Regions from separate parts of the Homo sapiens genome. Here region 1 is linked to region 2. The links are contacts of gene promoters, found by promoter capture Hi-C in blood cells and fetal thymus (Javierre and others, 2016). All regions are on one chromosome and are shown on one strand. Each heading gives the region's core, a stretch centred on a gene start or on the middle of the fragment in contact. The rest is flanking DNA. Distances are from core to core; before and after follow the strand shown.

What was found. Contacts are between HindIII fragments. The CHiCAGO score rates a contact against its expected background, and 5 or more counts as called.
Region 1: a contact is called between the fragment with the promoter of MARCHF2 here and the fragment with the promoter of CTXN1 in region 2, in 1 of 17 cell types (neutrophils). The highest score is 6.2, in neutrophils.

What each region holds. Positions count from the first base shown.
Region 1 is chr19:8,410,549-8,416,109 of GRCh38, reverse strand. It overlaps MARCHF2 (membrane associated ring-CH-type finger 2), which reads right to left and starts at 2,805. Exons shown (of 5, transcript NM_001005415.2): 1 at 2,690-2,805. RefSeq lists silencers at 191-485, 2,639-2,798, 2,829-3,188 and enhancers at 2,680-3,180, 4,051-4,345. The HindIII fragment of the contact is 7,216 bases long and covers 786-5,561 here.
Region 2 is chr19:7,922,628-7,927,477 of GRCh38, reverse strand. It overlaps CTXN1 (cortexin 1), which reads left to right and starts at 1,343. Exons shown (of 2, transcript NM_206833.4): 1 at 1,343-1,511; 2 at 1,920-2,987. The coding sequence starts at 1,940. The coding sequence ends at 2,188. It overlaps TIMM44 (translocase of inner mitochondrial membrane 44), which reads left to right. Exons shown (of 13, transcript NM_006351.4): 13 at 172-760. The coding sequence ends at 291. LOC124904629 (a long non-coding RNA gene) reads right to left here and starts at 2,073. Exons shown (of 2, transcript XR_007067120.1): 1 at 1,642-2,073; 2 at 668-905. It overlaps SNAPC2 (small nuclear RNA activating complex polypeptide 2), which reads right to left. Exons shown (of 5, transcript NM_003083.4): 5 at 4,228-4,850. The coding sequence ends at 4,714. RefSeq lists an enhancer at 1-662 and silencers at 1,159-1,428, 1,959-2,048. The HindIII fragment of the contact is 5,018 bases long and covers 1-3,203 here.

The DNA of each region.
Region 1 (5,561 bases), core at 1,556-4,055, 490 kb before region 2:
AGCCTCCTAAAGTGCTGGGATTACAGGCATGAGCCACTGTGCCTGGCCATGTTGTAGTCATTTCTCAATCCTCACTCCGTTTAAGAACAGCGTGAGAGAGCCACATCTCTTGACCCTCCGATCCTGGTCGGCCAGCCCCTGTGGTGGGCATCAGAGATATTTAGAGGCTAGAGGTCCACTCAAACCACAGAGGCCCAGGCCTGGAAGAGGCCAAACTTGAGGCTGGACACAAAGAGAGGGTGACTGCAAGTCGGACTCAGCTCTGAGGCTGCTGAAATGGGAGAGTGATCTGATGGCTCCAGCAAACTTGGCCCAGTGCCCAGGAGATTTATTTCTCTTCTTTCTTTTGTCTGGTTTTTTTTTTTGTTTTTTTTGTTTTTTTTTTTTTGAGATGGAGTTTCACTCTTGTTGCCCAGGGTGGAGAGCAATGGCACCACCTCGGTTCTCTGCAACCTCCGCCTCCCAGGTTCAAGCGATTCTCCTGCCTCAACCACCAGAGTAGCTGGGATTACCGGTGCCCTCCACCCACAGCTGGCTAATTATTTGTATTTTTAGTAGAGACGGGGTTTCACCATGTTGGCCAGGATGGTCTCAAACTCCTTATCTCAGGTGATCCACCCGCCTTGGCTTCCCAAAGTGCTGGGATTACAGGCATGAGTCACCGCGCCTGGCCTATTTCTTTTCTTTCTTTTGTCTGTTTTTTTTTTTTTTTCTTTTGAGGCAGGGTCTCAATCTGTCACCCAAAAGGCTGGAGGGCAGTGTAGTAATCACAGCTCACTGAAGCTTCCACCGCCCCCAGGTTCAGGTGATCCTCCCACCTCAGCCTCCTGAGTAGCTCTGCACACCACCACATCCAGCTAATTTTTGTATTTTTTTGTAGAAATGGTGTTTTGCCAAGTTGCCCAGGCTGGTCCTGAACTCCTGGCCTAGTGATCTGCCCGCCTTGGCCTCTCAAAGTGTTGGGATTACAGGCATGAGCCACCACGCCCGGCCTGGAGATAGATCTCATTGAGTCTTCACAACAAACCAATAATTACACCCTATGATGGGGAAAGAGGCTGAAGCTCGGAGAGAGGCACCTACTTTCCCAAGGTCATATAGCTAGGAAGGGGTGGTGTCAGAATTTGAACTTAAAACAGTCCAGGGAGTGGTTCTGGACCTCAAGAGACCTGGGTTCTTTAACTCCTGGCCCTCCTGGCTATGCCACCGATGCTGGGTGTCCTGGTTCAAGTCACTTTGCTTCTCTGGGCCTCATTCTAATGATGGAGCTGGTGGACTCTGTCCGTGGAGGGGTCTCCTGAGAAGGAGCCTCCAGGCTGAATTCATCCAGTAAAGCTCACCCTTAGCTAGGCTTGTTTAGGGTGGCACTGAGGCCCCCCAGTCTTTTCCATACCTGCCCAGGCTCCTTTTCCTGAAGGTAGGAAACAGAGGGCAGAGGAATCAGAGGGCCCTAAAACTCCCTACATTGTGGTCTCAGGCAGCTGTTTTACTCTCTCAGCCTCAGTATTATCATCTCTAAAATGAGTGTTACAGGCCGGGCGCAGTGGCTCACGCCTGTAATCCCAGCACTTTGTGCACTTTGGGAGTTCAAGGAAGGTGGATCACTTGAGGCCAGGAGTTCGAGACCAGCCTGGTCAACATGGTGAAACCCCGTTTCTGCTAAAAAGACAAAAATTGGCCAGGCACGGTGGCGGGGGCCTGTAATCCCAACTACTTGACCAGGGTGAGGTAGGAATCGCTTGAATCTGGGAGGCAGAGGTTGCAATGAGCTCAGATCGTGCCACTGCATTCCAGCCTGGGCAAGAGAGAGAGACTCTGTCTAAAAAAAAAAAAGACGGGGAGTCATAATGATATGTAGTTCATAAATTAGTAAAAAATTAAGAAGTTAATAACTATTAGCTCTTATTATAATTACTATCATCAGCTTACAGAGTTGTTGATGAGAGGTCACACAGTCAACCCTGGCACACACAGTAAGTGCTCAATAAAAGCTCTATTAATATTTTTTAGGGTAAATGTGGAGGTTGTTATTGCATTCATTCCTCCCTGCATGAGAAGCAAGGTTCCAATCCCAGCTCTACTCCTTATGTGCTGTGTGGCCCTGGGCAAGACACTTAACCTCTTTGAGCCTGGACTCTCTCAACTGTATAACAGGGGACATTTCTACTGCTTCCACCTACTCAGTATGGTTTCAAAAGAACTGAATGAGCTCAACATGCCCATTTGACTACCCCGTTTTGAGCACCCACATAGCACAGGGCATCCTGTTTCAGCATCTTTGTGCAAAGTGGCTGGGTCATTATATTATAACTTACTATTTTGCAGGCAGAGCCGCTCTGAGAAGGAGGTTGGGGAAGGGCATTGGCCACTTAGCAGTTGCCTACTGTGTGTCAGGCGTTTTCTGCACCAGCCACCTCCTGAATCCTCCCAGAAGCCCCATCAGGTTGGCAATGGGATGACCCAGTTTCACAGGTGGGGAAACCGAGGCTCGGAGAGGCGCCTATGTGTGCCGGACCCCGGAGACCTCCCACCGGCCTTGACACGGGAACTGAGGTCCCCGCGTCCCCGAGAAGGCTGTGGCCAAGGGATCGAGCCCAGCCGTCCCGCCCGGGTGCCGAGCTCCGGCCTCGAACCCGGGGCCGGCCCGCGGACTGGCGTCCTCCGGCCCTACCTGCAGGCCCGTGCCTACCTGATCCGCGGCCGGGCCGGGCGGCCGCACAGGCCCCTCGGTTCGCCTCGGCCCCGGTCCCGGCCCGGCCCGGCCCGTCGGCGCCACTAGCTCCGCTCCGGCCGGCACCTGCGTCCGGGCACCGCCCGCCGAGCCGACAGCGCCGCGGACCAATAGCGACCGCCTCTCGCCTGCATTCGCCAATCGCCTTGCACGTCCCGCCCTAAGAGGCGGGGCCGGAGGCCACAGGGACGACTTGGGCCGCACAGGCCCCGCTGTGCCGCAGCTGCTGGCTCCGCCCCTGCCGCGTCTTGGCTCCGCCCCCAGCTCCGGCTCCGCCCCAGCACTGGCCCCGCCCCAGCCCCGCCCCAGGCACGAGGGGGTGCTGCTGCGCCACCTGCAGACGGCCAGCGTCCTCTAATAAATAAAACCTCTGCAGAATTTAACTTTTTTTTTTTTGAGACTGGCCGGGTGCAGTGGCTCATGCCTGTAATCGGAGCACTTTGGGAGGCCGAGACGGAAGGATCGCTTGAGGCCAGATGTTGGGGACCAGCCTGGGCAACATGGTGAGTTCCCGTCTCTACAAAAAATTTAAAAGGATGGGCGCGGTGGCTCACGCCTGTAATCCTAGCACTTTGGGAAGCCGAGGCGGGCGGATCACGAGGTCAGGAGATCGAGACCATCCTGGCTAACACGGTGAAACCCCGTCTCTACTAAAAATACAAAAAAATTAGCCGGGCGTGGTGGCGGGCGCCTGTAGTCCCAGCTACTCGGGAGGCTGAGGCAGAGGAATGGCGTGAACCCGGGAGGCAGAGCTTGCAGTGAGCCGACATCGCGCCACTGCACTCCAGCCTGGGTGACAGAGTGAGACTCTGTCTCAAATAAATACATAAATAAATAAATAATAAAATAAAATAAAATAAAAGTTAGCCAAGTGTGGTGGCCCAGGCCTGTAGTCCCAGCTGCTCTGGAGGCTGAGGCAAGAGGATCACTTGAGCCCAGGAGTTCGAGGCCAGTCTGGGCAACATAGTAAACTCACCCACCCCCATCTCTAAGACAGATCAATTTTTAAAAAAATACTGCACTATATGTTCACTTAGTATAAGCACACTTTTGCACATAATCACAGTATAACCTTCAAAATCAGAAAATTAATGTTCATCTAATATTATCATGTAATTCCCAGAGCCCATTCAAAGGCCAGGTGCAGTGACTCATGCCTGTAATCCCAGCACTTGGATCATTTGAGGTCAGGAGTTCGAGACCAGCCCGGCCAACATGGTGAAACCCTGTCTGTACTAAAAATACAAATAATTAGCTGGGTTTTGTTGTGGGCACCTGTAATTCCAGCTACTCAGGAGGCTGAGGCAGGAGAATTGCTTGAATCTGCAAGGTGGAGGTTGCAGTGAGCGGAGATCTTGCCACTGCACTCTAACCTGGGCAACACAGCCAGACTCTGTCTCAAAAAAAAGAAAAGAAAAGTTTCCAATAAAGTCCTTTAAAAATCCAAAGTCCAGGCCAGGCACAGTGAGTCATGTCTGCAATCCCAGCTCTTTGGGAGCCCAAGGCAGGAAGGTCTCTTGGGTCTAGGAGTCTGAGATCAGTCTGGGCAGCACAGTGAGACCCCATCTCTACAAAATAAAATAAAAATATTAGCCAGTTGTGGTGGCATCCTCCTGTGGTCCCAGCTACTTGGGAGGCTGAAGTGAGAGGATCAATTGAGCCCAGGAGTTCTGGGCTGCAGTGAGCCATTACCTCACCACTGCATTCCAGCCTGGGCAACAGAGCAAGATCCTGTGTCAAAAAACAAAAAATCCCAAATCCATCCCAGGATCAAGCATTGTATTTTGTTGTTAACGACTCTAATTTAGTCTCTCTTTCTGGAACATTTTATCAATCTTACCTTCTCTCCATGACATCAATATTTTTCAAAAATTCCAGGCTAGTAATTTTGCAGGAAGTCCTTCCATTGCTATTTGTCTAATACTTTCTCATGATTTTGCATTTGTGGCAGGAAACAGATGTGACGTTGTGTTTTCAGGATGCATACAATGCTGATTTTGTCCACTATCGATTGTGCTAACTTGGTTCAAATGGTGTCTGCCAGTTTCTCCAGTGTGAGGTTAGTATGTTACACTGTGGTGTTTTGTTGTTGTTGTTGTTTTTAATATTTTATTTAATTTTAATTTTTTTTTTTTTTTTTTGAGACAGAGTCTCACTCTGTCACCCAGGCTGGAGTGCAATGGTGTGGTCTCAGCTCACTGCAACCTCTGCCTCCCAGGTTCAAGGGATTCTCCTGGCTCACCTCCCGAGTAGCTGGGATTACAGGCCCGCACCACCACGCCCAGCTAATTTTTGTGTTTTTAGTAGAGGCAGGTTTCACTATGTTGGTCAGGCTGGTCTTAAACGCCTGACTTCAAGTGATCTGCCCACTTCCGCCTCCCAAAGTGCTGGGATTACAGGCAGGAGCCACCACGCCCGACCAATTTTTTTTTTCTTTTTTGGCGATGGAGTCTCATTCTGTGGCCCAGACTGGAGTGCAGTGGCGCCCTCTCTGCTCACTGCAACCTCCGCCACCGGTTCAAGTGATTTTCCTGCCTCAGCCTCCTGAGTAGTTGTGATTACAGGCCCGCACCACCACGTCCAGCTAATTTGTGTATTTTTAGTAGAGATGGGGTTTCGCCATGTTGGCCAGGCTAGTCTTAAATTCCTAACCTCAGGCATGAGCCACGGCACCTGACTTTACACTTTGTTAATAAGTGCTTTCTGGGGAGATACTTCGAAAGTAATTAAATAGCCTGTTCCTCAACACACGCCGTTTCCAAGAGCTTAATATCAATTGATGACCCTTGCCTGAGTCAGTTATTACCATAATAGCAACCAAATGGTGATT
Region 2 (4,850 bases), core at 94-2,593:
TGTTTTTACCAAGGCTGAGTGGTTCCTGAGTCTAGGCAATTGTGCTGGCCTCTGCTCCCAGCCCCTGGGGAAGTTGCCGGTGGCTCCTGCCCCACAGAGCCTGGCCCCCCCCCAGAGCTGCCTGGGTCACCTCAACCCTCTCAACAGTGCCCTTCCCACCCCACCCTGCAGGACAAGGTGCTGCGGATGCTGTACGTGTGGGCGCTCTGCCGAGACCAGGACGAGCTCAACCCCTACGCGGCCTGGCGGCTCCTGGACATCTCGGCCTCCAGCACCGAGCAGATTCTCTGAGTGTGGTGCCGGAGCCAGGTAGCCCCGGCCTGGGTCATCAGGCACAGAGGCACCGCAACACCACCTGCGGCAACTCCAGACCTCTGGGAACAAGACTGCGGGCTCTGCCCCCAGCTCTGCCAGGACGGCTGCAAGACCAGCTGGCCCGGGAGGGGACAACGGGCTGTTGCGGGTGCGCGGCAGCTGGAGACACTCCCCCGCAGGGCCAACCCCTGCCCTGTTGCTCTGCCCTGCAGGGGTCCCGGCGCCTGGTCACCTGGGGTGCACACAGGTCACACAGTGCCAAGAGGCCCCAGGGCCCAGGGACTCCCCCCACAGCAGGGTGGGACCCGGGACCCGCGGCTCAGTGGCCCGCTAGCCACGTCAGCCAAGCCACTTTAGGTCCATTTTTTAATTTTAACAGTGCTCTTCCATCTTGTGCATAAGCCTGAGATTTGGAAAGAATAAAACACCGAATTGCAGAAGAGCAGCTACGGAGTCTGAAGTGTCTTCTCTGGCGCGGGAGTGGCCGAGGCGATGGTGGGGGTGGGAGCAGGCGGCTGCTGTGGGAGGCGGTCAAGGTCGAGTGAGGAACTGCAGCCGCAGTGGGTGGACGCCTTGCCCAGGGCTGGACCCTGAGTTGGAAGACGAGGCCAGTGACAGACAAAACTAGGGGGACTTACTCATCCCAGTGACCTGCCTGAGCTCTCTGAGAATTGAGGTCCCCAGGGCCGGGGGAGCTTGAGTGCCCATATGAGTGTTTTAGGGCCACTGAGGTCCCCCCACAAACAGGGAGTCTCGAGTGGGGTCTATCGCGGAGGAGAATGCAGGCACAGGGCAGGCTGGGGGGCCCGAAGTGCCAGGGGAGGTGGGAGTGGCAGCTGCCCACTCCCCGGCGAGGTCGTGGGTGCTCGCGGGTCCTCGGGGCTGGGGTTCCGTCCTCCCGCAGGCCCGGGCGGGGTCGCTGGCTCGCGCGCCGCTCCCTGCGCAGCCTCCGCCCCCTGCAGCCCCGCCCCCCGCGGCGGCCCCGCCCCCGTCGCCATAGGAACAGCCGCGGCGGCCCGGCTCGCGCGCTGCTTGCCTGCCTCGGTCTCCGCCGCTCCAGGGGCGGGTGGGGTGGGCTGAGCCGGAGCCCGGGCCGCCGCCGCCGCCGCCGGGGAGAGGCCGAACGCGCAGCCGGCGCGGGTCCCTGAGAGAGCGCGGCCGCCGGGCGGTCGGTCCCCGTCCGGGTCGAAGCCAGGGTGAGGGGCGCGCCGGGGCGGGGGCGGTGGGGGAGGGGGTCCCAGGCCGCCGAGAACAAAGGGAGCGGGGGCAGGGGCCGCGGGGACCGTCCCCACGCCGCGCGCCCGGGCCGCGGCCGCGCTTTCGCACCTGTTGTGTGCGGCCCAGGCCGGGCGCGGCTCCGTTTCCCGGCTCTCAGCGCCCCCACCTGCGCGCACGGCCAGAGTTGGGTCCCCGCGTGGTGGTGGCGGCGATCCGGCGGGCCGGGCATGGGCGTAGCCCGGGGACCGAGGCGCGGGCGGGGGATGGGGTCGGGCACGTTAAGGGAGGCGGCGGCGGCGGCGGCAGGAGGGGGCGAAGCGGAGGAGGCGCGGGAGGGAGGGCGCAGCCTCATCCCCGGCGCCCGGGGCGGGTCCCCTCCTCCGCAGGGCGCGCGGCGATGTGAGCCATGAGCGCGACGTGGACGCTGTCGCCGGAGCCCCTGCCGCCGTCGACGGGGCCCCCGGTGGGCGCGGGCCTGGACGCGGAGCAGCGCACGGTGTTCGCCTTCGTGCTCTGCCTGCTCGTGGTGCTGGTGCTGTTGATGGTGCGCTGCGTGCGCATCCTGCTCGACCCCTACAGCCGCATGCCCGCCTCGTCCTGGACCGACCACAAGGAGGCGCTCGAGCGCGGGCAGTTCGACTACGCGTTGGTGTGAGGGGCGCGGCGCCCCCTAGCCGGCCCTGCGCCGGGGTCTCAGAGGGCCGGCCCGGCGGGGGGCGCCGCGGGGCCAGGACTGCGCTCAGGATCCCGCCCCGGAGCCCCCAGCCCGGGGGAGAGGGGGAGGGAGTTGGGAGAAGCCCAGCCCCTCCCCCTCGAGACCCCTCCCATGTCCCTTCCTGGCCTGGCCGGAGCCCCACCTCGTGCCTTTATCCGCCCTGTCCCTTCCTCTCTGCGCATCTCACCCGCCCGGCTGGCCCCCACCCCCGACTCTGAATCCCGGGCGGGAGGAGGACCCCCGCACCGCCCCCTCCCCAGCGTGTAAGTGGCTCTGCTATTGTGCGTCCCTGGAAGTGGGGACCCCCTTGTCCCTCCTCCCTCCCCTGTTGTCTGGCCGTCGTCAACCCCACCTTGACTGAGTGTTGAGCCCGTCCTTGGGCTCTGGTCCCTGCGGGGCAGGCTCTCCCGGGCCCACGGGGCGGACGCTGCATACCAATTTGCCCTGCACCGCCTGTCCCGGAGACGGAGCCCGAAGGCCTGCCATGGCGGCTGTGTCGAGGATGCGTGGCGCCTGCCGTGGCGGGACAGCGTGGGCAGGCTCATTTCTGCCCCCAACCCGGGCCCCAGGACAGGTCAGCGCGCCCTGCCCCGGTGCCCACCGCTGCCCCCCATCCGCCCTCCTGCCACTTGCCCCTGACCCCCCTGCCGTGCCTCCCGCAGCCCTCCCATGCCGTTCCACTCCTCCCTGCCTCTGAGCCGAACATGATAATAAAAGCTATTATTGAGCGCTTACTGCATGCCAAGTAGCGTGCTGAGTTGGCACCTCCTGTTTATAGCCTGTCTCCTCTTCGGGATCGTGAGAATGAGCCAGGCCCTGTTAGCATCCCTATTCTACAGGCCAGGAGACCGAGGGCCAGGCAGCTCCAGTGACTGACTTGCCCACAGTCACATGGCTAGAGTCTGGTAGGGCTGGAAGTGGAACCCAGGTCTGGCTTTTGCATGTTTTTAAAGCTTCCCAGGGCTGCAAAGACACCAAGATCACAAGCACCTTTCACCGGCTTTGGGGGGGGGGGCTGATGTGTAACCCCCAGCTGCCTCCCCTCCACACACAATTCTGTTGATCTGGGGAGGCGCCGGGGGTGGTGAGAGAGACTCAGCCCTGTGGGGAACTGGGAGGCGCACCCTCTGCCAGCCCTGGAGGGAGGCTCCGACGACCGACCGTACCTGCAGCCTAAGCCTCCTCCCCCTGCCCACCACCATTGGCAGCGTTTGTGGGTCTGGTGCGGTGGGGCGGTGACCACGGACGGAGTGGGCTGGCTGTGCTCCAAGGCCCTCCCAAGAGATGTGCACCCCAGGGGAGCCGTGTGCAGTGTGTGGGGGGAGGAATGAGCGTTTCTATAAAAGGCAGGCTGGGTGAATGCACAGGCTCCGAGAACGGAGAATTTACCGACTTGGATTACTAGCTGGGCGTGGGACGCGGTGCCGTGGGAGGACATCTGCTTCCCTCTCTAGGACCCGACCCTCGGTCCACACCCACAGGGCAGGTGAAGCTGATGGAGGGGGCCTCAAGCGGGGTCCCAGCACCCCCAGGGGTTTGGGGTCAGCCCTGACTCCAGTACCCCTCCCTCCCCGCCTTCTAGGGATCCTTGAGGTCCCAAAGCCACCCCAGGGGACACTCCACTCCCACTAGCCTCCTGCCACTCGGGGCAGCCCACCCCTATCTATCTTCCTCTAACCGCCCAGCCTGGGGCTCAACTCCTTCCACCGGGTCACCCCCACTCTCTGCTGCCTTCTCCCCTCCACCTGTGCGATGTGATTTTGCCCTACTCTGAAACCCATCCCTGACGCCTGTCCCCAAGGTGCCCTGCCGGCTCTCCCCATCCACACTTGTCAGCTTCACAGTCACCAAGGGGCTCCTCACCCCAGGCCTCATCACACCAGTCAGGTGGCAGCTCTCCTCCCTGGCACACACCCCCAGCCCTGTGACCCCCAAGCTCTGACACTTCAGGGCCCCCACTTCCATCTTTAAGTCACAGGTGAAAGAGAAAGAGAATGATAACTTTATTCATGGTCACAGAATACCCCCGGGAAGGGGAAGGACCTGGCAGCAGGGAGTAACCACGACTGGTCAGTTGAAGAAGGTGAGGATGCTGGCCCCGAGGTGTACAGGAAGGGGGAAAATGTGCGAGGGCCTTTACGGTGGGCAGTGCCAGCTATGGCCCCCCAGCAGACAACAAGGCACAGTGGGGCTTGGGGACTGGGGGAGGCCAGCCCTGTCCGCCTGTCCTTGACATCAGGAGGCTTGTGAGTGGAGTCCTGCAACCCCCACCCAACCCCTGTACAACGGGGGTTCCATTTCTGAGACCCCCAAAGTATGGGGCATCTTAGAGGCCCGCCCCACAGCTGAGCATCATCTCAAGGACCTTCCCCCATGACGGGATCCTCAGAAAGAGCCAGGGCCAGCCGAGCAGAACCGAGGGGCAGGGCGGGGGGCCTGGTGTGGCCTCCTGCCCGCCATGCCCCTCACCTGGCAGGGGTGGCTGCCCGACCCAGAAGCTCCAGGGGCACCAGGAACGGGTTCAGGGGACAGATCCCAGCTGCTTGCCAAGGCGATTTCAGTTCGCTGTGCTCGGCCTTCTCGGTGGCTGGGGGGGTCTCCT